7 separate regions of the Homo sapiens genome follow, and regions 1, 2, 4, 5, 6 and 7 are each linked to region 3. Evidence: promoter capture Hi-C in 16 types of primary human blood cells and fetal thymus (Javierre and others, 2016). All regions are on one chromosome and are shown on one strand. Each heading gives the region's core, a stretch centred on a gene start or on the middle of the fragment in contact. The rest is flanking DNA. Distances are from core to core; before and after follow the strand shown.

Region 1 (2,781 bases), core at 215-2,714, 420 kb before region 3:
GCTGGCTGTCAGGGTTTTTGTTTTTTGTTTTGTTTTGTTTTTTTAACAACTTCCACGGTAATAAAGTAGGCAAAGAAGAATTGCCTTTACAAGTTACTGAATTTCTAATCCTAAAATTTGCTAAGCCTTACACATAACCATAAGGGTAAAGATATAATACCCATTTTGGAGGGGAGGGGGGAGGGATAGCATTGGGAGATATACCTAATGCTAGATGACGAGTTAGTGGGTGCAGCGCACCAGCATGGCACATGTATACATATGTAACTAACCTGCACAATGTGCACATGTACCCTAAAACTTAAAGTATAAAAAAAAAAGATATAATACCCATTTTGTAAATGAGAAAACTGAGGTCTGGAGAAGGGACCTGGACATGTCATTTAGCTGTGGATTCAGACTCAGAGCTGCCTGAGTCCAGAGCCCAGGCAATCTGTACACTCTACTACCTCCTTCTATTATTTTTGTAATTGAGACATAACATCCGCATAACGTACACATGTTTACATGTCACTATCACCCAAATCCAGGGACAGAACATTTCCATAGCCCTAGAACCCCCCTGTGGGCTTCCTTCCAGGACAGCCACCCTCCTGCCTCCGGATACCATTGTGTTCTTTCTCGTCCTTCAGCAGACTGCAAGGTGCTCGAGCAGGCACCAGTTAAAATGGGCTTTAAAACCACATGCTCAGCTGGGCACGGTGGCTCACGCCTATAATCCCAGAACTTTGGGAGGCCAAGGCAGGTGGATTGCTTGAGGCCAAGAGTTCAAGACCAGCCCAGCCAACATGGTGAAACCCCGTCTCTACTAAAAATACAAAAATTAGCCAGGCATGTTGGCATGAGCCTGTAGTCCCAGCTACTCGGGAAGCTGAGGCACAAGAATCTCTTGAGCCCAGGATACAGAGGTTGCAGTGAGCCAAGATTGTGCCACTGCACTCCAGCCTAGGCTCGGAGTGAGAATGTCTCACCAAAAAAAAAAAAAAACACACACACTCAAGGAACCTCTGCAGGGAAGCCTCAGCCTGGCCTCTTGGCAACAGCTAAGGTTGTGCCTGGCTGTTGTCAAGATAACACACACTTATTTATCAATGCCAGGTACTGCGTTAGGTGCTAGGCAAGCAGTGATGACAAAGTCAAGTTGGTCCCTGTTCTAAAGTCACTGAGAGTTCAAAGATGAGCTGATATTAAACAACCACACCAAAGTGTATGTGCACAACAGCGGTAAGCAGTGTGGCAGAGCACAGGCTAGTCTGAAAGAAATTTGGGGAGGTCAGGAATGGCCTTGCTAAAGCTGGAAAGTCCCATGGTTGGCATTGACCAGGAGCAGGATTGGGGTCCCTTGGCCAGAAGAAGTGGAATGTGCAAAGGCCCTGAGGGGAGGAGGCATGCACCAAATCACATAGGCCCTAAAAGGAGCTCATGAGGGCCTGAGCATCCCTAAAAGCAAGGAAAAGTCATAGAATTTCCTTCACAAGAGGATGGGATTGGTGACACATCCCTGGGAAGTCACAGAAATGTCAAGGGGGGGACTGGAAGACCTGAAACAGCAAGTAGGAACAAGGTCAGCAAAATGTCACTGAGCAAAATGTCACCTGTGCCCTGGTGTGAGGTGGCCTGAGTAGACACAAGTTACATATGTGACCCACAATCTCAGGTCTTATTTATAGAAAGAGACTGTTCTATAAACAAAGATCAAAGAAAGAGTTTACTCTCCAGGATTGTTTATTGGGAAGAATTTCTTATAACCACATCCAGGAAAGTGTCATCCATCTTGATGCTGGCATTTGCCACCATATTGTTTTTCCTATAAAACTAGTGCTGGTAGGCCGGGCATGGTGGTTCACGCCTGTAATCCCAGCACTTTGGAAGGCTGAGGCAGGCAGATCACCTAGGTCAGGAGTTCGAGACCAGCCTGGCCAACATGGCGAAACCCCATCTCTACTAAAAGTACAAAATTAGCTGGGCATGTTGGTGGCGAAACCCCATCTCTACTAAAAGTACAAAATTAGCTGGGCATGTTGGTGCATGCCTGCAGTCCCAGCTACTCGGGAGGCTGAGGCAGGAGAATCGCCTGAACTTGGGAGGCAGAGGTTGCAGTGAGCCAAGATCGCGCCACTGCACTCCAGCCTGGGTGACAAGAGAGAAACTCTGTCTCAAAAAAAAAAAAAAGAAAAAAAACTAGTGCTGGTAAATGTTTAACAATTGATTCTCCCAAAATAAGTCCCTATGTGTATGCACACATAAACATATGTATATACCTAAGATTATTATAAACTCACTAATATGAAAGATATATAGCACACAATTTACATAAAATAATAAAATATACATACTCTTTATTTTTTAATTTTCTTCTTAAAATATGCATACTCTTTTTTGTTTGTTTATTTGTTTGTTTGTTTGTTTGTTTTTGAGACAGAGTCTTGCTCCGGTCACCCAGGCTGGAGGGCAATGGCGCGATCCCAGCTCACTGCAATCTCTGTCTTCTGGGTTCAAGGGTTCAAGTGATTCTCCTGCCTCAGTCTCCTGAGTAGCTGGGATTACAGGCACCTGCCACCACACCGGGCTAATTTTTGTATTTTTAGTAGAGACAGGCTTTCACCATGTTGCCCAGGCTGGTCTCAAACTCCTGACCTCAGGTGATCCACCAGCCTTGGCATCCCAAAGTGCTGGGATTACAGGCATGAGCCACTGTGCCCAGGCATTAAAATATACATACTCTTTATTGCAATTGCTATGTAGTCAACTGATTCCCACAGAAGGCTTTCATTTATTTTT
Region 2 (2,700 bases), core at 179-2,678, 340 kb after region 3:
CACCAAAATAAAATTATGAGGTACCATGTACATACGAAGCAAACTGGAAAAATACAAAGTGGAACAGTACCAAATGCTGGCTGGGGTGTGAAGCTTGAAGACACTCGTCCTCTGCTGAAGGAAATGTAAACTGTTATCACTGCTCTGGAAAAAACAGTTTCGCCTGATAGAGTAAAACTGAATATGCACATATCCTATTAGGTTAGTGCCATTACTTTTTTTTAAAATTAATTACTTTTTAAAATTTTACTTTAAGTTCTGGAATACAGGTACTGAATGCGCAGGTTTGTTACATAGGTATACATGTGCCATGGTGGTTTGTTGCACCTATCAACCGGTCATCTAGGTTTTAAGCCTCGCATGCATTAGGTATTTGTCTTAATGCTCTCCCTCTGCTTGCCCCCCACTCCGCCCAACAGGCCCCAGTGTGTGATGTTCCCTTCCCTGTGTCCATGTGTTCTCACTGTTCAACTTCCACTTGTGAGTGGGAACATACAGTGTTTGGTTTTCTGTTCTTGTGTTAGTTTGCTGAGGATGATGGTTTCCAGCTTCATCCATGTCCCTGCAAAGACATGAACTCATTCTTTTTTATGGCTGCATAGTATTCCATGGTGTATATGTGCCACATTTTCTTAATCCCGTCTATCACTGATGGGCATTTGGGTTGGTTCCAAGTCTTTGCTATTGTAAATAGTGCTGCAATAAAGATACGTGTGCATGTGTCTTTATAGTGGCATAATTTATAATCCTTTGGGTATATACCCAGTAATGGGATTGCTGGGTCAAATGGTATTTCTAGTTCTAGATCCTTGAGGAATCGCCACACTGTCTTCCACAATGGTTGAACTAATTTACACTCCCACCAACAGTGTAAAAGCGTTCCTATTTCTCCACATCCTCTCCAGCATCTGTTGTTTCCTAACTTTTTAATGATCGCCATTCTAACTGGCATGAGATGGTATTGCATTGTGGCTTTGATTTGCATTTCTCTGATGACCAGTGATGACGAGCATTTTTTCATATGTCTGTTGGCTGCATAAATGTCTTCTTTGGAGAAGCGTCTGTTCATATCCTTTGCCCACTTTTTGATGAGATTGTTTGTTTTTCTCTTGTAAATTTGTTTATGTTCTTTGTAGATTCTGGATATTAGCCCTTTGTCAGATGGATAGATTGCAAAATTTTTCTCCCATTCTGTAGGTTGCCTGTTCACTCTGATGACAGTTTCTTTTGCTGTGCAGAAGCTCTTTAGTATAATTAGATCTCATTTGTCAATTTTGGCTTTTGTTGCCATTGCTTTTGGTGTTTTAATCATGAAGTCTTTGTCCATGCCTATGTCCTGAATGGTAATGCCTAGGTTTTCTTCTAGGGTTTTTATGGTTTTAGGTCTTACATTTAAGTCTTTAAGCCATCTTGAGTTAATTTTTGTGTAAGTTGTAAGGAAGGGGTCCAGTTTCAGTTTTCTGCATATGGGCTAGTCAGTTTTCCCAGCCATTTATTAAATAGGAAATCCTTTCCCCGTTGCTTGCTTTTGTCAGGTCTGTTGAAGATTAGATGGTTGTAGATGTGTGGTGTTATTTCTGAGTTCTCTGGTCTGTTCCTTTGGTCTATATATCTAAAAACTGCAATCAAATACAATTCTGCAATTCCCTTCCTAGGTCTATATATCTAAAAACTGCAATCAAATACAATTCTGCAATTCCCTTCCTAGGTTTATACACCAGGAAACACGTACGCAAATGTGCAAGAAGTCTTGTTCACAATACTCTCGAATTGGAAATAATCTGAATATCTATCAGTGGTGAAGTGGTTTTATAAGTCATGTCATATTCAAACAAGGGAGCCCTGTACAACAAATAAAATGAGTAAACTACAGCTACAAAAGCATATCAAAGCCATATTGCTGATTGTAAGAATACAATCCGTATGATCCTCAATTACAGAAAATTTAAAAACAAGAAAATTAAGCAATACATTTGTAGTTAAAAGACACACACACACACACACACACACACACACACACACTAAAACTATGCAGAGAAGAAAAGAATGATTAACCTAAAATTCAAAACGAAAGCTCTTGGAAGAGGCACCAAATGTCCTCTAGTGAACTGGTAATGTTCTATTTCTTAGCCTAGATATTGATTACACAGATGTTTATCTATTCTTTTATTTCAAGCTGTACATGTAGATTTTATATACTTCTTTGTGTGTAATGTATCACACACACACTTAACTGGGATCTTCCCTGCCTAATTTACGGGTGCCGGCAGCAGTGAGCGACCCAGGAAAGTGTCCCCTGCAGGCAAAGCAGGAATGAATAATGTCTGGTATGCTAGAAATCTAAATTGATCTCGACCTTCCTCTCCTCCAGCTTGATTTATTCCCTAACTGGCCGCTAGTGTTTCTGCTGACATTGCACTTGCTGATAACTATCTCGGACACCAATGACATTGCATAATACTCCTTCACAGGTGTTAGTATGTGAATACTTGCCACTAAATAAGAGTTACATTTTATTAAAAAAAATTAAGTCCACTTTAAAACAAAACAAAATAAAAATGCCCTTTAGTATGTCTTTGACAGAGTATGTCCTTATCTCCTCTAACAGTGGCCAGTTGATTCAGGCAACACTTTAAATGATGACATGCATTACCTATTATCTTCTTTTCTAATGCGCTTCAAGTACACTTTCTCTCATTC
Region 3 (2,700 bases), core at 17-2,516:
ACATAGGGAAACCCCATCTCTACTAAAAATACAAAAATTAGTCAGGTGTGGTGGCTGACACCTATAATCCCAGCTACTTGGGAAGCTGAGGCAGGGAGAATCACTTGAACCGGGGAGGTGGAGGTTGCAGTGAGCTGAGATCATGCCACTGCACTCCAGCCTGGGCGACAGGGTGAGATTCTGTCTCAAACAAACAAATTTAAAAGCTCCGAATCCTCCAAAAATACCAAGATTTTCCTGTCGGTAACTAGAGATGGGTACTGATGATTATTTTTAATAGGTGATTTTCAAAGATGTGAACGTTATCCATGGAGATTTAAGTCTCCAAAAGGAAAAAAAATGCATACCTTTATACTAAAACTTCATCACCAGTCAAATTTGGATCATCACTAAATTGGCTTCTACACCTCTCTCCTAATATAAGGTACTTGTGTAAGTTTGCAGTTGTGAGACACTTATTTCCTCATTTTTAATGTCTTCTCAGTAGGGCCACTGATATAGTCACTATTTGACTGACCAGAATGGTTGGCACTGGTGATTGGCTCATAAAGTGCCCTCGATTTAGGGGGCTCAATTATCAAAGGTTTAAATCCTAGCCCAAACCATTGCTGTGATGGGGGTTAATCAATGAACCACTCAGCTTCACTTGCAAAAGCGGGATCACAATAGCCGCTTTCGTCATGACCCAGCCTAGGTGAGATTTAGTACTTAAGTACACTGCCAGGCACACAAGGTTAATTTAACAATTTAACACATTTGTTTCCTCATCCATTTCTCCAAACCTTCCAACTAATCCTAACGTTCGTTCGGCCAAATGGGCCAGGAATTCACTTAAACAAAAACAAAAAACAAAACAAACAAAAAAACACTCCCTGGGGCTTGGGGAAGGAGGCACCGCCGCCCATGTCGCAGTCTGGGGGTGGCTCAGTCCTCAGCACCCAGATCTACGGCCATAATGCTCTTCGAGGCCAAGGAGCCCGGATGCGGGGCGTTGCCGAAGGCGTCTTGCTCAGGCTGCGGGAAAGGAGAGGGGTGGGAGCGGGGTGGGGGCATCGCGACCCAGGGCAAGGCGGCGAGTCGCCGTCTTCGAGTCCCACCTGTCCGAAGCGGGGTGAGAAAAGGCAAAACATGGCAAAGCCATGCACCTCCCAGGGTGGGCAACTCACGGCCGGTGAACGCCGGACCCTTAGCAGTTTCCAGACCTTTGGAACCGGAAGCGGAGCCTGAGAGCGCGCCCGAGAGGGCGTGAACGGGACCGCTTTCCCGGAAGTGCTTGCGGCCTCTGCCCAGCGAGCTGCCCCGGGGTCTCTCTGGTTTCCTAATCAGGGCAACGCCGCGGGAGAGAACCTTTACCTTGGCTGCACTAAGTTCTCGGTGCCACTCCCTGGCAGGGCGGGACCTTGTTTAGGCCCTGTGATCGCGCGGTTCGTAGTAGCGCAAGGCGCAGAGTGGACCTTGACCCGCCTAGGGCGGGAAGAGTTTGGCCCGCCGGGTCCCAAAGGGCAGAATGGACGGGCTCCTAAATCCCAGGGAATCCTCTAAATTCATTGCAGAAAACAGTCGGGATGTGTTTATTGACAGCGGAGGCGTACGGAGGGTGGCAGAGCTGCTGCTGGCCAAGGCGGCGGGGCCAGAGCTGCGCGTGGAGGGGTGGAAAGCCCTTCATGAGCTGAACCCCAGGGCGGCCGACGAGGCCGCGGTCAACTGGGTGTTCGTGACAGACACGCTCAACTTCTCCTTTTGGTCGGAGCAGGACGAGCACAAGTGTGTGGTGAGGTACAGAGGGAAAACATACAGTGGGTACTGGTCCCTGTGCGCCGCCGTCAACAGAGCCCTCGACGAAGGTTGGTGCCATACTTGCCATCGGACCTAACGGCCTTTGAGGTTTCCATTTACTTGGGGTGTGTGTAGGGGAGTTCCAAGGAGCGGGTTGGGAGATGGAATAATGGAAAGCGAACCTGAAGTTCGTTGCAAGTCCTTATGCTTAAAATAGAAGTATGAAAAGGGGCATATTTTAGTGGAAAATGATGTTAATATTTATCATTGCAGCATAAAAGTTACAGTAGCATAAAAGTCAGTTTTATAAAGAATGCCATTTGAATGACACCTGAAGAACAAAAGGACCGATGTTATAAAGCAATTTACTCAGAATACATCTGATGTAATATTGCAATAGTTAGAAATGGGTGAATAAGTACAGATGAACAAGTAGAAAATGAGTTTTGCTTTAGATTTTTTATTCTTCCACTTTTGGTGCATTCCTATACCACTCATTTGGTTTCATATTAATTCCATGTTGTAAAAGCAAGGGTTTAATGCATATGGAAGTATGACATTGGTCCTCTGAATTTTATTTTTTCACTAAAGGGATACCAATAACTAGTGCCTCGTACTACGCGACAGTGACCCTGGATCAGGTTCGGAATATACTTCGTTCTGACACAGACGTTTCCATGCCTTTAGTAGAAGAGAGGCATCGGATTCTCAATGAAACCGGGAAAATTCTGCTGGAGAAGTTTGGAGGCTCTTTTCTCAACTGCGTCCGAGAAAGTGAGAATAGTGCGCAGAAGTTAATGCACCTGGTGGTTGAAAGTTTTCCTTCTTACAGAGATGTGACTCTGTTTGAGGTGAGTTGCTTCTGTTGGGGATTTTAGAAGTCTTAATCATCTCAGAGTTAACTCTTTTACTTCCAGAACTCAT
Region 4 (2,700 bases), core at 35-2,534, 390 kb before region 3:
AAATCTGCAGGATAATATATAGTTTGAGACCATTTCACTATCCACATACATAACTTATTAAAAAAATGCTAAATGTATATGTTTACATATATGAATAATTCAAAAAGCATCTCTTTTTGTAACTTTTTGTTTTCATATAATGTTAAATTTGTAGAAAAGATCCAAGAATAATGCAAAAAACTCTCATTACAGTTTCACCATTAGCGTCTTGCCTCATTTGTTTTATTTATTCTCTCTCATACTCATATACATTTACATGTTTTTTTTTTTTCCTGAACCCTTTGGGAGTAAAATCACAGACATTATATCACTTTATTCCTAAATACTCCAACGTGTATTTCCTAAGGACATTCTCTTACATAACCACAATACAATTATCAAGATCAGGAAATTTAATATTGATACATTACTTTTACCAAATTCAACTTTTGCCAATTGTCCCTACGTTGTCTTTTTTTTTTTAATTTAATTTAATTTAATTTAATTTTTTTTTTGAGATGGAGTCTCACTCTGTCATCCAGGCTGGAGTGCAGTGGTGCAATCACAACTCACTGCAGCCTTGACCTCCTGGGGCTCAGGTGATCTTCTCACTTCAGCCTCCTGAGTAGCTGGTACTATAGGCGCATGCCACCATGCCCAACTAATTTTTTCCATTTTTTAAGATTTGGGGTTTTACCATGTTGCCCAGGTTGGTCTCAGACTCCTGGGCTCAAGCAATCAGCCCATCTCTGCCTCACAAAGTGCTGGGATTACAGGCATGAGCCACTGCACCCAGCCTCTGCATTTTCTCTGAACATTGCAGGCAGATACTAATAAAGTCATGTACCTTGAAACATCATTTTAGTCAACAAGAGACCTCATATACAATAGTAGTCTCATAAGATTATAATGGAGCTGAAAAAATTTTATCACGTAGTGACATCTTGATGATCCTGACCCTGTGTAGGCCTAGACTAATATGTGGGTGTTTATGCTGTAGTATTTAGCAAAGAAGTTTAAAAAGTTATATATATGCTGATAGAATAAGACTATAAAGAAAATATTTTTGTATAGCCATACAATGTATTTGCATTTGCATTTTAAGCTAGGTTTTATTACAAGAGTCAAGAAATTTTAAAAATGAGAACATTTATAAGGTAAAAAAGTTGACTGGGCACCGTTGCTCATGCCTGTAATCCCAGCACTTTGGGAGGCTGAGGTGGGAGGATCACTTGAGGTCAGGATATACCAGCCTGGCCAAGAGGGTGAAACCACCTCTACTAAAAATACAAAAATCAGCCAGACGTGGTGGTGCGTGCCTGTAGTCACAGCTACCTGGGAGGCTGAGGCACAAGAATTGCTTGAACCCAGGGAGGTGGAGGTTGCAGTGAGCCAAGATCGCACCACTGTGCTCCAGCCTGGGTGACAGAGCAACACTCTGTCTCAGAAAAAAGTTATGGTGAGCTAAGATTAATTTCTTATTGAATAAAGAAAATTTTTAAATAAATTTGGTGTAACCTAAGTGTATAATGTTTATATAAAGTCTACATTATTGAACAGTAATGCCCTAGGCCTTAACATTAACTCACCACTAACTCACTGACTCACCTAGAACCTAGTCCTGTAAGTTCCATCCATGGTAAGTGCCCTATAGAGGTGTACCATTATTTATTTATTTATTATTTTTCATTTTTTATTTTTATACCTATTTATTTATTTATTTATTTATTTTTGAGACCTGGTTTCACTCTTGTTGCCCAGGCTGGAGTGCAATGACGCAATCTTGGCTCACTGCAAACTCTGCCTCCTGGTTCAAGCGATTCCCCTGCCTCAGCCTCCCGAGTAGCTGGGATTACAGGCATGCACCACCACACCCGGCTAATTTTTGTATTTTTAGTAGAGACGTGGTTTCACCACATTAGTCAGGCTGGTCTTGAACTCCAGACCTCAGGTGATCCACCTGCCTTGGCCTCCCAAAGTTGCTGGGATTACAGGCATGAGCCACCGTGCCGGGCCTACCATATTTTTTACTATACCTTTTCTATGTTTAGATATATTTAAATGCACAAATACTTACCATTTTGTTATAATTGCCTACAGTATTCAGCACAGTAACATGCTGTACAGGTTTGTAGTCTAGGAGCCACAGGCTATACCATATAACCTAGGTGTGTTTTAGGCTATACCATCTGGATTTGTGTAAATACACTCTGTGATGTTTGCATGATGAAAAAACTGCCTAAGGACTCATTTCTCAGAATGTATCCCCATTGTTAAGTAACACATGGCTGTGTTATTAAAAAAGATTGTCATCTCTGGAAATCTTCCAGACTCAAGAATGCACTTCCTGGAAGATTCTTGTTTATCCATAAGTTGCATGTTGCCATTCTGCCATTCCTATAACCCATATCAATGTTTGTTCTTTGCTCCCTTCGTGAACCTCATTCAACCACATGTAATGGTAACATACTTACCCTACTGAACACTGACAGAGCCCTAGAGGCTCAACTCAAGGTTTTCAAAAAACTGGCTACTGACAGGTTTCCCATGGACCCGTGAGTGTATGGATGCTGTCTTAGTCTGTTTTCTGCTGTCATAACAGAATTCTACATAATGGGTAATTTATAAAAAACAAGTAAGCCGGACGTGGTGGCTGATGCCTGTAATCCCAACATTTTGGGAGGCCAAGGCGGACAGATCACTTGAAGTCAGGAGTTCAAG
Region 5 (2,700 bases), core at 97-2,596, 440 kb before region 3:
TGAATGACCAAGGACAGCTTGGAGGTCAGAAGTAAGATGGAGTCAACTGTATCAGATTTCTTTTTTTTTTTTTTTTTTTGAGACAGAGTCTCGCTCTTGTTGCCCAGGCTGGAGTGCAATGGCATGATCTCGGCTCACTGCAACATCCGCCTCCCAGGTTCAAGCAATTCTCCTGCCTCAGCCTCCTGAGTAGCTGGGATTACAGGCATGCACCACCACACCCAGCAAATTTTGTATTTTTAGTAGAGATGGGGTTTCTCCATGTTGGTCAGGCTGGTCTCAAACTCCCAACCTCAGGTGATCCGCCCACCTCAGCCTCCCAAAGTGCTGGGATTACAGGCGTGAGCCACCGCGCCTGGACTTAGATTTCTTACCGTCATAATTTTGCAAGAGCAATTTCAATACCAAATGTACAGTAGTCCTGATCCTGTCAAAGGACTCCAGTACTGAGGAAAGGGTGAGCTGAATAATCTCCAAGGCCCCTCTAACTCAGAACCTGTGAGGATCTCAACTTCACTTTTCTGCAGGGCTCTGTGTGTGTTTCAGGCTAAAAAGTTGTGCTATGTTTTAAATGTCCAACCCCTTCAATGGATCTTTGCAAATGCATGTATTGGGAGACATTAGGAGATAACCTCAGAAGCCTAGACCTCAAATCAAATGTCAAAAGACATTTTTGAGCTAATTCTGGAGGAATTTGAGTATGGGTCAGAATTATATGATATTGAGAAGTTATTATTTATTTTCTCTTTTAAAAAACAATTTTAATATTTTTAAAAATATCTTTATTGAGATGGGGTTTTACTATGTTGCCCAGGCTGGTCTTGAACTCCTGGGCTTAAGAAATCCTCCAGCCTCAGCCTCCCAAAATCCTGGGATTGCAGGTATGAGCCACCATGCCCGGCCTGAGAAGTCATTATTAACATGTAATAAAGGCACAGAAGAAATGCCCCATGTAGGCGGAAATGACTAGAAACCTGGATATTTGCCTTTTTCAAGCAAAAATTTCAGCAAAGACAAACACAAAAAATGAAAGTATGATAATTTTTCTATAGCAAAATCTTCTTTTCTCCCCCTTGGCATGTGAATAAGAGCTATGTGGCAAAATCTTGATAATTGTTGAATCTAAGTAGTGGATAAATAAGGATTCATTATACTATTCTCTTTACTTTTGTATATATTTACATTTTTCAATAATAAGAAGAGTTTCGAGTTTACATCTGTGTCCACCCCCCATGGTTATGACATTAGGGTCAAAAGCACCTTCGGAGCCCTCACCCTCACTCCGCATGGGTGGTAAAGGCTGGACTGGAAGGACGGGCCTTACCGGGCACAGCATCTGCTTCCTGGCCCGGGAAGAGCCAGCAACATCTTGAGGAAATAAATGCATACAAAGATCAACAGCTTGAAGGGGTGGATTTCAGGGCCCGTGTGCTTCACAGTGAGTCATCACTTCCACAGTCACAATTTCTCACTTAGAAGGAATCCAAAAAAGCACCCCTAACCATTGGATTCCAAACTTCATTGGGTTCTTCTGGGGTTTATTAAACCCACAGATTCCGGGGCTCCCAACTAGACCCATAGAATAGACTGAGCAGTGGCGGGGCCCCGGAATCTGTGTTAATTTATTTCTCTGGTGATTCTGGGACAGCCCTGAACTGGGGGCCTGGGAGCCTCTGAAGTGGATCAACGTCCCAATCCCACAAAGGAGAACGTGGCCCAGAAGGGCTTTGTAACCGGCCGAAGGTGACATCCCTGCGGCTTCCTCCCTCACTTTTCACAGCCATGCCCTCCCTGAGAGACCCCTCAGAAAGAGTGGGCCCCTGGAAACGCGCCAGCACAGGAAAGAAGACAGCCAAACACTCTCCATGAATGCACGCCCCGTCCTTGGCCTGGGGGACTCGCAGCACCCCTGAGCACCCGTGCCTGGCAGATGCAGCCACGCTCCTTGCCTTCAGGTCCCTCACACGGTGTCAGGCCTAAAGCAGCCCAGCTTCTGCCTCTGATCCGGCCTCTGTGATATTGACCCCTGTCTCCTGCTAAGCAGCTCTTAGATGGGAGATGTTCTAATGGGAAAGAAGACAGGGAGGAGCCAGAGGATATCTGTTACAGCCATTACTTTCCACTCAGGATCCTATTTTGCATCTTCACTCGAGGCCTATAAATTGAACCTTGAGGGCGGGTCCCAGAAATCCGCAGCTAGAAGTTCATAAAACCAGGTCGGGTTGCCTTGGGCCAATTAAAGTGAAACACTGCCACCAAGTGGCCATTCTAGGTCATCACAGGCTGCCAGCTCCTTCCAGAGCACCTGCCTCTCTGCCAGAGACAAACAGCATGACAGAGCAGGTGGGCATGCCCTTCCCTTCTTTTTCTTAAAATTATTTTACTTATATTAATAGAAATACATTCACATGGTATAAAACGCATAAGGTCCAAAGTGGTCCTGGTGGTTGCCTCCAGAGCTAATGTAGATCCAGCTGAATGCCTCGTTAGGGGTCTCCATTAGGTCTTTAACCCTGTTATGCCTGCCATCTCACCAGTATCGTCTGTTGCTCCTTGTCCATAGGGGTTCTGTTCCCAAGTGCCCAGTGCTAACCTGCCTCTTGGAGTTTACTACAAATCTGGGTTGATTCAGCAACACCAAAGACCTGAGGCTAAATAAATTCTGCAACTCCTACCAGCCTTCCTGGTTCTGAACAACCC
Region 6 (2,700 bases), core at 152-2,651, 320 kb after region 3:
CTTAGAGTTAAGGGGCAATTCGAACTATGAATTAGGACTGACTCAGAGATGAAATACACAGAAAAAAATTAATTTCTTTTTGGCACGAGTAAATGTTCATAATGAGTTTGGGGTGAACCAAAGAGAGAGGACAATTTGTTTAAATACCAGAATTTCTTTCTTATTAGCAGAGGCACAAACTTGCATTTTGCTATTTTGCTCAGATTGTACATTCCGCCATTCCATCTGCACAAATATTTCTATTTGCTTGTGCTGTGGAAATGGAGATCAATCTCTGTATTATTTTATGGCTTAGGAAACAAATATACTTTTCATTAAGCTGAGTGTTGACTATCTTATTCATTATACTTTCTATGTGCCTGAAATATTTCATAAGAATGAAACAAACAAAAATTACAGAAAACATATTTGGGTAATAAGTTTTCTATCTTGTGTACAAAGAAATAGAGCTTTACTTTGAATACATGTTTTTTCATTGTTTTAATAGTGCCTTAATGGATGCTTTAGTCAATAATAAAGCACACTGCTTCATCTAGTCATAATAAAGCTTTTCAGAATCTCAACTATGAAAGCCATAATAAACATAAATATAAAACTATTTAAACAAAAATAGGTGCTTTTAGACATCCACCTTATCGGAATTTATGGCAGACCAGATTAATGACCATGCACCAGTAAGGACTGTGTCCATCAGTCATAAAAACAATAGAGAGGGTTGGAAATAAAAGAGCAGCACTTTGAACATTATTCCTGAAATTTCCAAATAGTGAATCATAATTAAATGATTATGAATTTTCTTTGGAGATTCCCATAAAGCCACAAGGAGAAAGGTTTTTTCCAAGGCAGCGCCAGTGTAGAAATTCAAGTTCTAGTGCCTGACCTGCTTTAAGCCAGGCTACCATGTCAGTGCCGTCATGACCACCCTTTAAGTCAGTGCCTCAGACATCTTTAAGGCCTAACCCCTACCATGGATGTGCTTGTGGGGAACTGCCCCTCTCATTCCTGCTGTCATTCTCACCCTCTGTCTAACCCTTTTCTCTCAATTTAACAAACCTTGATTCACTTCTTGTGAATCATTTGTTTAATGGTTGGATGATCAGGGCCTTTAACACAGTAGGAGAAGTATGATCTTTGAAGTTAGAAAGACTCCCTTTGCTGTGTGGCTTTGCTCAAGTTACTTAATTTCTCTGCACCTCTCTTTGTTCATTTGTAAAGTGGGGATCGTATATAATTCATTGAGCTGCTCTGGGATTTAAATAAGAAAAGGAATAAACTATTTTTTGGTTGATTTAACAGTTGAAATAAACAGTACTTATTTCCAACTCTGAATTTTTGAAAGAGTTTAAATTCATGAATTTGGTAGGCACTGGGCCTTAATTCCACAAACATTAAATGTGGTGCAAAGCACCATACTGAGTGAGCACTGGGGATAAATATGAATGGTGTGGTTCCTGTCCTCAAAGAGAAGAGGCAAATGAGTAATCTATTAAGTCACCTGCAGGGCAGTGATGAGGGCTGTGGGAGATATACTAAGAAGGGCTATGATAACACAGCAGGAGGACAGGCCAATCTTCTTTTATTTTTTTATTTTTGAGATGTAGTCTTGCTCTGTCACCCAGGCTGGAGTGCAGTGGTGTGATCTTGGCTCACTGCAAGCTCCACCTCCTGGGTTCACGCCATTCTCCCGCCTCAGCCTCCCGAGTAGCTGGGACTACAGGCGCCTGCCACCACGCCCGGCTAATTTTGTGTATTTTTAGTAGAGACGGGATTTCACCGTGTTAGCCAGGATGGTCTCGATCTCCTGACCTTGTGATCTGCCCGCCTCGGCCTCCCAAAGTGCTGGGATTACAGGCGTGAGCCACTGCGCCTGGAGGACAGGCCAATCTTGATCAGGCCTTGGAAAGAGTAAATCTTAAAAGATAAAGATAATTTCAAGACCTTGACTGGCCTGCTAAGGAGTGTGGACCTTATTGTAAAGGTGCTAGGAAGGACCTAGACACATGAGCTCCAAATTTTATGTTCATAATGAAGAAAGGGGGGAATTGAGATCTCTCTACAGTGAAGAAATTGGAAGAAGGAGATATTAGAGCAAATTCACTGAGCTCTATGCCTTCCAGACAGTTACTGTGGACAATATAATAAGTTATGAAAATCAAACACACAGAAGTTTTAGAGGAAAGAAATGAGACAATCCAAATTAGCATCTCTGCCTATGGCTCTGATGTTCAAGGTTTTCACACTCCAGATCAAGCTTGTACAACACACAGCCCGCAAACCCTACTGCGGCTTTGAATGTGGCCCAACATAAATTTGTAAACTTCCTTAAAACATGAGATTTTTTTTGTGATTTTTTTTTTTTTTTTTTTTTTTTTTGCTCATCAGCTATCGTTAATGTTAGTGTATTTTATGTGTGGCCCAAGACAATTCTTCTTCCAGTGTGGCCCAGGGAAGCCAAACGACTGGACACCCCTGCTCTAGATAGTCCCTACACGCAAAGATGGGGAAGGCAGTGCACTCCCGACTCCCAGCCCAGTGCTCGGAGGTGAGCACAATGAATGCTCTACGAAGAGTGAAATCAGAATGTCATGAGGCTAGAGAAAGCTTTCTTGGCCTATGGAAACATCTTGAGAAATTAAATGTCTTTTGGAAGGGGATGATGGGTAAAGAGAGAACAGATAATGGTAGAATATGGGTGGAGAG
Region 7 (2,700 bases), core at 181-2,680, 290 kb after region 3:
AAACAGGCATTACAAAAATTGTTGACTTTGGTGCTGAGACACTAAAGGAAACGTTGTTACGGTTGTAGAGAAGACATGCTACAACCTAAAGTCTTATTTTTTAGAAATTGCCTTTAAAAATGCATTTTTTTTGTTCCTATTTGAAAATCATTTGAAATAGATTTTGCTTTAAAAAAGTTCTTAGGGAGGAATGGAAACTTGATTATCCCAAGTACCTCCAGGGCAGCTGTATTCTAGTCTGTCTTTTGACTGGAAAAAAGTCCTAACTACCTTAACTCCACCCATGACACCACCTCCTGCGGTAGCTTGTGTTACATATATATATATCTCGTAAATATGGCTAAAGAATATGGACCCCCTAATAATGTGGTTGCATCTACAAACATACATTGGTTTTACTAATAATGTGCCATTATATAAAGATGATCGCCAGTTTAAACCTGTTTTATTAGGTTGTCCCCAAACTTCTTAATGTCTCAAGGTCTGTTAGGTGCTTTCTGTTTTCTTTTCTGGGTTTCTTTTTTCTTTCCCTTTCTCCTTTCCCCTTTCCTTTTCCTCCTTCCTCTTCCCCTTTCCCTTTTCCCTTTCCTCTTCCCCTTCCCCCTTTCCCCTTTTTCCTCTTTCCCCTCTTTGCCTTTCCCTTTTTTTTTTTTCTTTCCCTTTCCCTTTTGACAAAGTGCCCAGGCTGGATGCAATCACAGCTCACTGCGACCTGCACCTCCTGGGCTGCAGCAATCCTCCCACCTTAGCCTCTGGAGTAGCTGGGATTACAGGCGCAGACCACCACACCTGGCTAATTTTTGTATTTTTTGTAGAGCTGGGGTTTCAACCGTGTTGCCCAGGTTGGTCTCAAACTCCTGAGCTCAAGCGATCTCACCCGCCTTGGCCTCCCAAAGTGCTGGGATTACAGGCGTGAGCCTGGCCTGCTTTCTGTTTTCAAGCCTTACTAAATATAATAAATAGGGTAGGGTTCTGTCTCATACATATCTGTATTCCTGATAAGCTAGCGTAGCATAGTTTCTGGCTCTTGGTAGGTACTCAGTAAATATTCATGGAATAAATAAGAAAGAAGGATTTGGAGTATTAGAATTAATTGTGACATAAGTTAACTTACAAGCCTCCAAATTATCAGGTAGGCCTAGGATTGATTGGTCATTTATATGGAGATTTTTTTTTTTAACTTCATTTCTGAAGAAAAGATTTGATGCTGCTGAAATGTCAGAATTAAGAGTATAATTTTGGGCCTGAAACTGAAGCTCTTTTCTAAGAATTGACTGTCCAGTGCAAAAATTAAACTCACATTCATTCGAAGAATCATTGAAGCTTTAGAATTTTATACATGAGGATACCAGCTTTTATAGTTACTCAATTGGTCAGTAGCTACACAAATCATCTAATTCTGAACTATCTGTGTGTGTGTGTGTGTGTGTGTGTGTGTGTGTGTGTGTGTATATGTATATGTATATACACACACACATACAGGTTTTTCTGCATGTACGTGATCCTCTAAAATAATGGTTGATGTTTATTAAGCTTTTCTCCCCCTCCCCTAAAGTAGAGTCGTGATCTATTTGACATGATTATTTAGGTACAAACTAGACTATTTAAAATAAACTGCTAATGGACTTTTAAATATGTTGGATAAGTTTCAAGAGGTGGGCAGTGTTTTTAAAGCTCAGTAGATCAGCATATGTTATAAAAAAGCAATTAAAAAATTTTAAAAGTCATGTGTGGCAGGGACTGGCTTCCTTTAGAGTTGGATTAATTTTTTTTTTCTTTAATAGCTACAGAATCCAGAAGTCAGATTTCAGCAACAACTGGAACAACTCAGTGCAATGGGATTTTTGAACCGTGAAGCAAACTTGCAAGCTCTAATAGCAACAGGAGGTGATATCAATGCAGCTATTGAAAGGTTACTGGGCTCCCAGCCATCATAGCAGCATTTCTGTATCTTGAAAAAATGTAATTTATTTTTGATAACGGCTCTTAAACTTTAAAATACCTGCTTTATTTCATTTTGACTCTTGGAATTCTGTGCTGTTATAAACAAACCCAATATGATGCATTTTAAGGTGGAGTACAGTAAGATGTGTGGGTTTTTCTGTATTTTTCTTTTCTGGAACAGTGGGAATTAAGGCTACTGCATGCATCACTTCTGCATTTATTGTAATTTTTTAAAAACATCACCTTTTATAGTTGGGTGACCAGATTTTGTCCTGCATCTGTCCAGTTTATTTGCTTTTTAAACATTAGCCTATGGTAGTAATTTATGTAGAATAAAAGCATTAAAAAGAAGCAAATCATTTGCACTCTATAATTTGTGGTACAGTATTGCTTATTGTGACTTTGGCATGCATTTTTGCAAACAATGCTGTAAGATTTATACTACTGATAATTTTGTTTTATTTGTATACAATATAGAGTATGCACATTTGGGACTGCATTTCTGGAAACATACTGCAATAGGCTCTCTGAGCAAAACACCTGTAACTAAAAAAGTGAAGATAAGAAAATACTCTTAAAGCTGAGTATTTCCTAATTGTATAGAATCTTACAGCATCTTTGACAAACATCTCCCAGCAAAAGTGCCGGTTAGTCAGGTTTGTTGAAAATACAGTAGAAAAGCTGATTCTGGTTATCTCTTTAAGGACAATTAATTGTACAGACACATAATGTAACATTGTCTCAACATTCATTCAC

What was found. The method cuts DNA at HindIII sites, captures the fragments that hold promoters and counts their contacts. A CHiCAGO score of 5 or more calls a contact.
Region 1: a fragment that was not itself captured here is called in contact with the fragment with the promoter of QNG1 in region 3 in 5 of 17 cell types (M2 macrophages, M0 macrophages, neutrophils and 2 more); the score reaches 8.0 in M2 macrophages.
Region 2: a contact is called between a fragment that was not itself captured here and the fragment with the promoter of QNG1 in region 3, in 3 of 17 cell types (naive CD8 T cells, non-activated CD4 T cells and total CD4 T cells). The highest score is 8.1, in naive CD8 T cells.
Region 4: a fragment that was not itself captured here is called in contact with the fragment with the promoter of QNG1 in region 3 in 5 of 17 cell types (M0 macrophages, neutrophils, erythroblasts and 2 more); the score reaches 7.1 in M0 macrophages.
Region 5: a fragment that was not itself captured here is called in contact with the fragment with the promoter of QNG1 in region 3 in 2 of 17 cell types (M2 macrophages and neutrophils); the score reaches 7.0 in M2 macrophages.
Region 6: a contact is called between a fragment that was not itself captured here and the fragment with the promoter of QNG1 in region 3, in 1 of 17 cell types (activated CD4 T cells). The highest score is 5.1, in activated CD4 T cells.
Region 7: a fragment that was not itself captured here is called in contact with the fragment with the promoter of QNG1 in region 3 in 4 of 17 cell types (non-activated CD4 T cells, total CD8 T cells, total B cells and 1 more); the score reaches 7.8 in non-activated CD4 T cells.

Annotation. Positions count from the first base shown.
Region 1 is chr9:84,380,009-84,382,789 of GRCh38, reverse strand. No RefSeq gene overlaps it. Among named protein-coding and RNA genes, the nearest start is that of SLC28A3, 41 kb to the right of the region's middle. The HindIII fragment of the contact is 6,565 bases long and covers 1-2,781 here.
Region 2 is chr9:83,611,387-83,614,086 of GRCh38, reverse strand. No RefSeq gene overlaps it. Among named protein-coding and RNA genes, the nearest start is that of IDNK, 10 kb to the left of the region's middle. The HindIII fragment of the contact is 2,666 bases long and covers 96-2,700 here.
Region 3 is chr9:83,955,308-83,958,007 of GRCh38, reverse strand. It overlaps QNG1 (Q-nucleotide N-glycosylase 1), which reads left to right and starts at 1,266. Exons shown (of 4, transcript NM_032307.5): 1 at 1,266-1,844; 2 at 2,368-2,627. The coding sequence starts at 1,508. The HindIII fragment of the contact is 8,080 bases long and covers 1-2,700 here.
Region 4 is chr9:84,349,454-84,352,153 of GRCh38, reverse strand. It overlaps a transcript of SLC28A3 not described here. Among named protein-coding and RNA genes, the nearest start is that of SLC28A3, 10 kb to the right of the region's middle. The HindIII fragment of the contact is 4,870 bases long and covers 1-2,700 here.
Region 5 is chr9:84,396,812-84,399,511 of GRCh38, reverse strand. No RefSeq gene overlaps it. Among named protein-coding and RNA genes, the nearest start is that of SLC28A3, 57 kb to the right of the region's middle. The HindIII fragment of the contact is 7,909 bases long and covers 1-2,700 here.
Region 6 is chr9:83,632,231-83,634,930 of GRCh38, reverse strand. The region is part of intron 3 of IDNK (IDNK gluconokinase); the gene reads right to left. Among named protein-coding and RNA genes, the nearest start is that of IDNK, 10 kb to the right of the region's middle. The HindIII fragment of the contact is 1,704 bases long and covers 550-2,253 here.
Region 7 is chr9:83,661,024-83,663,723 of GRCh38, reverse strand. It overlaps UBQLN1 (ubiquilin 1), which reads left to right. Exons shown (of 11, transcript NM_013438.5): 11 at 1,785-2,700. The coding sequence ends at 1,937. Among named protein-coding and RNA genes, the nearest start is that of IDNK, 39 kb to the right of the region's middle. The HindIII fragment of the contact is 210 bases long and covers 1,326-1,535 here.